Regions from separate parts of the Homo sapiens genome. Here region 2 is linked to region 1. Evidence: promoter capture Hi-C in 16 types of primary human blood cells and fetal thymus (Javierre and others, 2016). All regions are on one chromosome and are shown on one strand. The core of a region is centred on a gene start or on the middle of the fragment in contact, and the rest is flanking DNA. Distances in the headings are between cores, read along the strand shown.

What was found. The method cuts DNA at HindIII sites, captures the fragments that hold promoters and counts their contacts. A CHiCAGO score of 5 or more calls a contact.
Region 2: a contact is called between a fragment that was not itself captured here and the fragment with the promoter of ATP5MG in region 1, in 1 of 17 cell types (total CD8 T cells). The highest score is 6.5, in total CD8 T cells.

The regions. Positions count from the first base shown.
Region 1 is chr11:118,399,359-118,404,287 of GRCh38, forward strand. It overlaps ATP5MG (ATP synthase membrane subunit g), which reads left to right and starts at 2,248. Exons shown (of 3, transcript NM_006476.5): 1 at 2,248-2,359. The coding sequence starts at 2,308. All of the region lies in intron 3 of LOC100131626 (a long non-coding RNA gene), which reads right to left. RefSeq lists enhancers at 1,909-1,988, 2,109-2,972, 3,431-4,021. The HindIII fragment of the contact is 3,431 bases long and covers 1-2,980 here.
Region 2 is chr11:119,013,884-119,018,812 of GRCh38, forward strand. It overlaps CENATAC (centrosomal AT-AC splicing factor), which reads left to right. Exons shown (of 11, transcript NM_198489.3): 9 at 1,111-1,200; 10 at 1,424-1,556; 11 at 1,655-1,910. The coding sequence ends at 1,715. RPS25 (ribosomal protein S25) reads right to left here and starts at 4,460. Exons shown (of 5, transcript NM_001028.3): 1 at 4,399-4,460; 2 at 4,075-4,170; 3 at 3,479-3,662; 4 at 1,958-2,056; 5 at 1,834-1,875. The coding sequence starts at 4,401. The coding sequence ends at 1,962. TRAPPC4 (trafficking protein particle complex subunit 4) reads left to right here and starts at 4,883. Exons shown (of 5, transcript NM_016146.6): 1 at 4,883-4,929. The coding sequence starts at 4,913. RefSeq lists enhancers at 4,182-4,251, 4,272-4,501, 4,756-4,929 and a silencer at 4,742-4,861. The HindIII fragment of the contact is 2,482 bases long and covers 1,910-4,391 here.

The sequences.
Region 1 (4,929 bases), core at 998-3,497:
GGCCTCTGGAGGGGACCCTGGGGTTACCCTCAGGAGATGAATCTCACAGTATGGTTTTCCTAACCAGCTCTCTTTTGGCTTCACTGTTTTTCTTTATCTGGCCTGAACCCCAGGTCTTTGTAATCATTTGCTGTTATCTTCCCCTTTCTTGCTCCTTGTTTCCATACCCCTGCCATGCAAGATGTCAGCCTAGATTAACTCAGCCATTCCCCTCTGCTGTAATATCCAAACTGCAGACCATTGTTGGAGGAAAAACACAATTTTTAGAATGGTACAACCACAAACTTATCTCTAACGTTGCCCAACAACCCTTCTGTGTGTCCTTCAGCTATTCCAAACTTTGGCCTCCTTCCTCAAATTCCTTCTCATACCCCCCTCCCATTGACCCCTCACAGTCCGATGACTTTGCCTTCATTTTGCTGGGAAGATAAAGACTTCAGAGACTTTGAAGACTTTCAGACCTCTCTCCCATAATCACATCTGTGGAAAAGGCCCCATAGATCCCTGGCTAGTTCTCTTTTCCTGCCTCATCAGGGCTCTTGTCAATATCCCTTTTTATCAGGCAGGATGGCCTGTGCCTGTAATCCCAGAGCTAAGCAAGAGGCTGAAGTGGGATGATCTCTTGAGGCCAGGAGTTTCAGGCCAGCCTGGGCAATGTGGCAAGACCCCATCTCTAAATAAATAAATGACTGCCTCTTCTCTGTCTTCAATTTCTCCCCTGAGTTCCACATCCCCCTTTGGTTTTCTGACTTGTAATCCTTTACAGCCATATTTCTTCACCATTCACCCTGGATTCTATCCTAATTTTTTGAAAAGGCGCTAGTTAGTTAAAGATTGCCATATTGCTAAATTAACTTTCCCATCCTTAATTTGACTTTTCTGCAGTATCTAGGGCAGCAGAATCACTCCTTCATTGAAAAGTTCTTAGTTCCTTGATTACACTTCTAATTTTTCTTTCCATCTCTCTAACCATTCCAAAAATCGGAGATTTACTTCTGCTCAGACTTCCCCAGGTTACATTACTTATAGTTCTGTTCCTCTCATCAAATGCCACTTCCCTACATACATCTTTTCCTCCTCATATTAAACTATGAAGTTTCAGCCCTCTGTAGTATACAGCTGTTCTCTTACACATCGGCTCAAGGATCTTTTCTAGGAAGTATGCTGAAATCAGCACCATGCCTAATCTGATGGAATGCCCCCTCTCTGAGTATACATTGCAACTTCAGATCTCAACTCTGCCACTTCCAAACTGTGTGGCCATTTTTCAAGCCCAGTCTCAATGGGGACAATGCCTTACAGGCTTTCTTTAAATTCCAAAATGCCTGGCATAGTGTGGGCGTTCAATACAGGTGATTTTTTCCTCACATCTGCACAGCTCCTTGTGGTTAACTAGGGAATTAGGGGAAATGGATTCCAATCGTGATACAGCACTTTGGGGAGATTGGGATTACAAAAAATCAACTTTAAAAGGGCTATGGGGCCAGGCGCGGTGATTCACGCCTGTAATCCCAGCACCAAGGCGGGTGGATCACTTGAAGCTAGGAGTTCGAGACCAGCCTGGCCAACATGGTGAAACACCGTCTCTACTAAAAGTACAAAAATTAGCCAGGCGTGGTGGCGGGCGCCTGTAGTCCCATCTACTAGGGAGACTGAGGCACAACAATCGCTGGAACCCGGGGGACAGAGGTTGCAGTGAGCCGAAGTCGTGCCACTGCACTTCAGCCTGGGCGACAGAGCGAGACTGTCTCAAATAAAAAGGGCTATGGGTTGAGCCTGGTGACAGCCTGTGTGGTGATTGCTCGGCCCCTAACTTTATATGTTTGGCCTTGGACCCTCTCTACCTCTGTACAACGATCGTGTTGGACTAGAAGAATCTCAGCGAATCCTTCTCCAGTACTGACTTCAAAGGTTCTCAGAATCGCGGCGAAAGCACCCTACGCAAAATAGCGGAGGTCGGCGCCAAGAAAAGCACTGCAGGTTCAGGGCGCATGCGCATTTCCGCTCCTTGCCGGTTTTCCGGACCTCTACGAGTGGCTGCCCCACAAAATGCCTGCTTCTCTGCGGAATCCTACTGTTCTTCACATGCTCTCTAATACCATCTTTTCATATCCACTTTCTCTTCCATGTTGAAAAATTAAATTGACAGGCTGGATTCTGCAAAGATCTTTGGACATTTAAGTATCTTCGACCGGCGCGAAAAGAGGCGGCCTGACCTTGGAAGTGGGACGGGGTCCTGCAGCGGGTCCTTCCGGCGGGTGACATTCAGCCGGCGGTTCGGGGCGACGGACTCTCCATTCCAGAACCATGGCCCAATTTGTCCGTAACCTTGTGGAGAAGACCCCGGCGCTGGTGAACGGTGAGCGCGATGTGAGACCGCCGAGGCGGGCACACGGGCGGCAGGGAGGCCTGCGATGGCCTGAGAGGAAGAAGCGGGCTGCGAAGACCCGAGGGGCCTGCGGGTGCCGGGGCGGGATGGCCTGCAGGTGGAGGGAGCAGGAAGCAGGTTGGCGACTCTTTTCTAGCCTTCCACTCGTCTGACCTGCAGATTGGGTTCTCTACACAACCTAGAAGTTCCTGAATTCTAACCACGACTGGGAAGAGAGGTAGTGTGAAGGAAGCCCGGCGTTGCCCGGCAGCTGCAACCATTACGCCCCCTGAGATCGCTAAGAGCAGGGATCTAGAGGGGATGGTTCTGTTAGGAGAGCTAAGAAAAGGAAGGGCAGAAACGTGAAAGTAAATCAATTCGGCCTCATTACATGTGGTGTTGTTCTCAGTGGAGTATTTGGAAGTCAACAGAAATGTTTAAGGATGGGTGAGCTTTTTTGAACGTTGACTTTGCTTTCTGTCCTAGACGGATTCTAAGATACTTCCGCTTTAATCCGAGGGAAATTTTAGGTGGAAATGGACTTCATGGATGAGTATCCATGCCCCGAGAAGCATAGGACGGGATCCGTATAAACAATAATCTTTGTTACGAAGCTTAGCATTCGTGGAATTTTTTCAGCTTGAAGAGCCTCACTGGTAGACCGCTGTATTTCACAACAACCCTGAATAATCACAGCCTCTGAGTACTAGTTTATTTGGCCAGTAAATATTTCAGTTGTCTTCTCAGTGGCAAGCTATTCATTTTATTCCTGAAGTGAGATAAGCTAAATTGACGTAAGTTTTTCCTAGATGTGCTGTATTCCAGTAAGTGACTGAAGGTCGGATCTCTTAACTTTTGCCTACGTTTATGAAATGTGAATAGAAAGCAGAACTTCAAAAAAAATGTAATACTTTCTAGCCTATTTTGCTGTGTTTGAGTTTGGTTTGGGTATTTTCTTTTTCTTTCTTTCTTTTTTTTTTTTTTTTTTCCTAGAAGACAGGGACTCACTCTGTCGCCCAGGCTGGAGTGCAGTGCAGATCACAGCTCACTGCAGCCTCCACCTCCTAGGCTCAAGCGATCCTCCCACCTCAGCCTCCTGAGTAGCTGGGATCACAGGCACGCACCACCACACCCAGCTAATTTTTGTATGTTTTAAGAGACGGGATTTCACCATGTTGCCCAGGCTAGTCTCTTAACTCCTGGGCTCAAGGGATCCTCCCGCCTCGGTCTCCTAAAGTGCCAGAGTTACAGGTGTGAGCCACAGCGCCAGCCGGGTAATTTATCCATTCTCTCCTCCCTTCCCTCCATCACCAGCCAAACTATGAGTTATTGAAGGCTGTCCTGCAGAACCTCACAGCCTACTAGTGAAACATTTTACACATTTTCCCAAATAATTTCATAAGCTTGCAAGAAAATCTTTTACTTTACTAAGATTGTTAAGATACCTGTCATAGAGCTCTACAATTTTATATAAATCAAAAGAGATGGCCCTGCGGCGGTAGCTTACGCCTGTAATCTCAGCACTTTGGGAGGCCAAGGCGGGCAGATCACTTGAGGGCAGGAGTTCGAGACCAGCCTGGCCAACATAGTGAAACCCCATCTCTACAAAAAATACAAAAATTAGGCAGGCTTGGTGGTGCATGTCTGTAATCGCAGCTACTTGGGAGGCTGAGGCAGGAGAATCGCTTGAACCCCGGAGGCGGAGGTTGCAGTGAGTCAGGATTGCACCACTGCATTCCAGCCTGGGCGACGAAGCGAGGCTAGGTCTCAAAAAAAAAAAATAATAATGCTGGACACTGTGGCTCACGCCTGTAATCCCAGCACTTTGGGAGGCCAAGGCAGGTGGATTACCTGAGGTCAGGAGTTAGACACCAGCCTCACTAATATGGTGAAACCTCGTCTCTACTAAAACAGAAATTAGCCGGGCATGGTGGCAGGCGCCTATAATCCCAGCTACTCGGGAAGCTGAGGCAGGAAAATCTCTTTAACCCAGGAGGCGGAGGTTGCAGTGAGCCAAGATTGCGCCACTGCACTCCAGCCTGGCGACAGAGCGAGACTCCGTCTAAAAAAAAAAAAAAAAAAAACTAAAGAGAAAAAAGGATTAGAGGCTTCACTCTGGACTTTGTGGGTGATTTAAGGCACAATTCTTAATATTTCAAGTGGATTTTTTTTCTGGTGTGGCTTTCACATTTTTTAGGTGGCGCATATTAAGGAATTGCAAACTAATTTTTGTGATCTAAAAAGAAAAGTAACACCAAGGTAATTTTTTTGTTATGAAATATATAATATGAACCCTTCCCTCCGTTGTAAATAATTGAAAGATAACTTGTTATTCTTCCAAAAGTACTTAGAAAGGAGGACTCAACTGGGCTGGAATGTTAACGTGGAAATACATTTTGCTTTATAACATACATAGGCTAGTGTATTAAATGTGAATGTTAAATATTTAATAAAAATTACTGACTATATCTGTTAATTCCCCTGGGGGTCAAAAAAGCTTATGGAAATAAGTAAATTTATCATCAGGTTTGCCTAGGAAGATCATAGAATCTGATTTTTTT
Region 2 (4,929 bases), core at 1,901-4,400, 620 kb after region 1:
AATAATGTTCAACATTAGTCATTAGAGAAATGCAAATTAAAACCACAGTGAAATACCACTACATATGTATTGGAATGGCAGAAATTAAAGACTGATCATGCCAAGTGTTTGGCAGTGTAGAAAAACCAAACCTTCATACACTGCTCTTAGAATGTAAACTGGTACAGTCACTTTGGAAAACAGTTTGGGATACACCTACCACATTATCCAACCGTTCCACCCCTAACTAGAGAAAAGAAAGCCTGTCTACATAGACTTGTACACAAATCTTCAGAACAGCTTCACTTGTAGCAGCTCCAAATTGGAAACAATTCAGATGTCTATCAACAGGCAAATGGATTAACAATGGAATAGTATTCCAGGATGAAGACAGAATTATTGATACGTACGACACAGATGAATCTCAGAAGTCCAGACCTGGCCGGCGTGGTGGCTCATGCCTGTAATCCCGACACTTTGGGAGGCCAAGGCAGGCGGATCACGAGGTCAGGAGTTCAAGACCAGTTTGGCCAACATGGTGAAACCCCATCTCTACTAAAAATTCAAAAATTAGCTGGGCATCGCAGCGCACGCCTGTAATCCCAGCTACTTGGGAGGCTGAGGCAGAATTGTTTGAACCGAGACCTGGGAGGCGGAGGTTGCAGTGAGCTGAGATTGTGTCCAGCCTGGGCTAGAGCGAGACTCCTCTCAAAAAAACAAAAGGCCAGACCCCACCTCAATGTCCACACACAGAAAATCCTAAAAAATACAAACCAATAAAGCAACTGAAAGATCACCGATTGCCTGGACATGAAAATATTTTAATGGGGGCAGTGATACTTACAGGGGGATGTTTGGGGTCTAGATTGTAATGGCTTCGCTCAAAAGTCACCAAATTTAAGTGTGTATCGTTTATGTCAGTTGTGCCTCAAAGCCATTTTAAAATGACTGTCACATATGGGGTATGTCGCTTTAAATTAGCCTAGGGCCTTCTAAAGCTCCAGAATTCCTGGGCTTTGCTTTTAGACATTTCTAGCTCTTAATGAGGAGAGGTAAGCTAACAGCTAGGACATGTTTCACAATAGCCTGAAGACTTAAAAAAAAAAAAAAAAGCCTTAATTTTTTTTTCAGGTGCCACACCTCCCTGGATGATCCAAGATGAAGAATACATTGCTGGGAACCAAGAAATAGGACCATCCTATGAAGAATTTCTTAAAGAAAGTAAGTAAACTAATTCAAGAGAGGATCGTCTAAATCTTCACACTCAAAAATGGTTTCCTTGCCTGTGTGTGGTGGCTCATGGCTATAATCCTAGCATTTTGGGAGGCTGAGGTGGGAGGGTCACTTGAGCCCAGAAGTTTGAAAACAGCCTGGACAACATAGTGAGACCCCATCTCTATATTCTTCAATAAAGAAAAATAAAAGTTTCCCTATCATTGTACAGAGGAAAAACAGAAGTTGAAAAAACTCCCCCCAGACCGAGTTGGGGCCAACTTTGATCACAGCTCCAGGACCAGTGCAGGCTGGCTGCCCTCTTTTGGCCGCGTCTGGAATAATGGACGCCGCTGGCAGTCCAGGTATGTGTGTTCAGTGCCGGGTCTCCAACCTACCCATCCAACCTCCTTTTTGGAGATGTCACCCTTCATCATCGTGTTAACCCTTTATTTCCTTTCAGACATCAATTCAAAACTGAAGCTGCAGCAATGAAGAAGCAGTCACATACAGAAAAAAGCTAATCATGCTCTCTACCAACTACCATGAGGCTAAAAGCAAAGTCAACAAACCCCTATTATACCTTCCACCAAATTCTTTATCATTGTCTTTCTTAGGAAACAGACATACTCATTCATTTGATTTAATAAAGTTTTATTTTTCCAAATGTACAGCTGGTTGGACCTGTAAAAAAAAATTAAAAGAATCAGAACCATAAAGCTTTGTATCTACCTCCTACACCATGAGCCCACACATTCCTACTCACCTATTCATGCATCTTCACCAGCAGCTGGAGCATCTCCACCCTTGGTATTTCTGGTGTAAATTACTTGAGCTCTGTGCTTTGAAACCAGTTTGATAAGTCCTAGGGGGAGAGAATAGCACGATGAGATGCTTAACAGATGCTACAATAGAAACTAGTAAGGTTTTTGGCTGGGCGCGGTGGCTCATGCTTATAATCCCACTGCTTTGGGAGGTGGAGACGGGCAGATAGCTTGAGGTAAGGAGTTGCACACCAGCCTGGCCAACAAGGTGAAACCCCATCTCTACCAAAAATACAAAAATTAGCTGGGCATGGTGGCACATGCTTGTAATTCCAGCTACTTGGGAAGCTGAGGTGAGGACCACCTGAACCCAGGAATTGGTGGTTGCATTGAGCCAAGACTGCCCCTCCGCACTCCAACCTGGGCAACAGAATGAGACTCTAGTAAGGTTTGTTTTGGCCGGGTGCAGAGGCTCATGCCTGTAATCCCAGCACTTTGGACAGGTGGATCTCTTGAGCCCAGGAGACCAGCCTGGGCAACATGGCAAAACCGCATCTCTATTTAAAGAAAAGGAAAACAAAAAGACAGAGTTCTCTCAGAGGTGCCCAGAATGGTCTTAAAACTCCTTGGCTCAAATGATCCTCCTGCTTTGGCCTCCCAAGTAGCTAGAAATACAAGGGTACCACTGCACCTGGCTCCAGAATTGCTTAATCTGACGTTCGGTAACCGAGAATCCTAGTTTTTAACGATCATCTATCCTTACTTTTCCTTTAAATTAGGGCTCCATTATCTTCCACCCCCCCCCCCTTTCTGAGACAGTCTTTTGCTGTCACTAAGGCTGGAGTGCAGTGGTGTCATCTCGGCTCACTGCCACCTCCATCTCCTGGGTTCAAGGGATCCTCATGCCTCAGCATCCTGAGTAGCTGGGATTACAGACGTGTGCCCCCACGTCCAGCTAACTTTCAGTAGAGCAGGTTTTCACCATATTGGCCAGGCTGGTCTTTAACTCCTGACCTCCGTTGATTCACCCGCCTTGGCCTCCCAAAGTGCTAGAATTATAGACGTTCAGTCACTATAGTTAGCTGAGCCTTATTATTGTGGAATTATGGTAATCAGACCATACTACTGAGTAGACCGTACTAAATTTCTGGTTTTAAAATTTAATACATCAACAAAATATTTACCATAAAGGTTTTAAACATTTTCAAAGTTGTTTCAAAATAGTAATCTAATTATTTCAAAAACGGTTGTCCCTGTAATTCTATGCATCCATTTACTCGAAACATAAAAGATCCTTGGGCTTCACTAAACTGCCACAGGGTCCACGGCACAAAAGTGGCTAAGAACCCTGAGAATTCATCTCAGGATCAGGAGTAAGACGTCAGAATTACATTACTAACAGCCAATGGTCAAGCCACGCTTTTTTTTTTTAATTCTGCTTTTCCAGCAAAACCACTGAAGATGCTTAACATGGTCAAGACAATTTAACCTACAAAAACACACATGTAGGATACACCCCTCACCTTTACTAAGGAGCTCCTGAAGGGCTGCCCTGGCCAGGGAGCCTCGAATCTTCAGTCTCTCAGAGACCACAGCTGGGGTTATAAGTTTATAGTTGGGAACTTCCTTACAGAGTTTATCATAGGTAGCTTTGTCAAACAAGACTAAGTTATTGAGCTTGTCCCGAACTTTGCCTTTGGACCACTTCTGCTCACCAAAACAAAACAGAAACAAGTTAGTATTTCTGGCAGAAGCACCCTTTCCCTCTCGAGTAATCTGCGTCAGAGAAATCTGTTCCACCGTTATCAAGGATAAATTACACATTACTAAAACAAAAACAAAAAAAAAACACCGACACGTTTTTGGCCTTCAAACAGGGGCCGAGCCCCACTAGATCAGTTAAAAATAACACAGCAGGCACAGCGGCAGACACTTCGCACAACAGACCCATTTTCATGATCCTAATGGGAAAAAGAACGAGTGGTGACGGGAAGATAAACTCTCACATTTTGACTCTAGAAATCTACACCTGAAAAACCACTTACTATACAAGTTACCTATTACTAGAGGATTACGAGAGAGTTACCCCTAGTCTCTTTCAGAGAGGTCTTATTTCTACCTTCTTTTTGGCCTTGCCCCCGGATTTGTTCACTGGGTCTTTGTCTTTCTTGGCCGACTTTCCAGCGTCCTTCTTCTTCTTGTCGTCCTTAGGCGGCTGTAGGAGGGCAGCGGGAATGCAACCAGGTCCTCAAATAGCGCCAAAGTCCCCTAATACTGCGCCCTCAGCCCCCGCAAACTCCACCACCAGAGCACATGGGCCAAGCAATAACCGCGCCCGCCCTGCAACCGAGGCCGGCAGGCCAAGGAGCGCTCCCGCCGAAGGCTCTCCCCACTGAGTCCTCAAACCCAAGAACGCCGGCGACTTCACACCCCTGAAGCTTACCATTGCGAAGCTCGGAGAATAGCAGCAGACACCGCAGCCTCGTCAAGATGTCGGACAAAAAGGAAGCGCTGCTCAGAAACGGGCCCAAAAACCACCGTCCGCTGTGAGTACTTCCGGGGCAAAAGGCGGAGCCAGGCAGAAGAAGTCCCACGGCGAAGCGCTCGCCCTCTAGCCTGAGGCGGAAGACAGGAAGTGGATTCTAGTTCCCAAGCCGCACCGCCTAAATACTGCCGGAGTCTGCGCTAGTTGTGACGCATACTATAGCGCTGTTTTCCTGCACTGATAAACGAAAAGCAATCCACCAGGTCTCGGCAGCTAACTTTCCGGCACTACTTATGCCCGAGCGTGTCGCTCCCAGTGCGCAAGTGCAGCAGGTGGCTGCACGGGGGGCGCGGGAGGAGGAGGAGGAGGAGGAGGAGGCTGGGGTGGGGCCGGCGGCAAGTGCTGTGATGCGGTTCCGGGGAGGGGCCGTCGGGTAGAGGCTGAATACCAGTTTCCGAGCGGCAAGGCAGCGATGGCGATTTTTAGTGT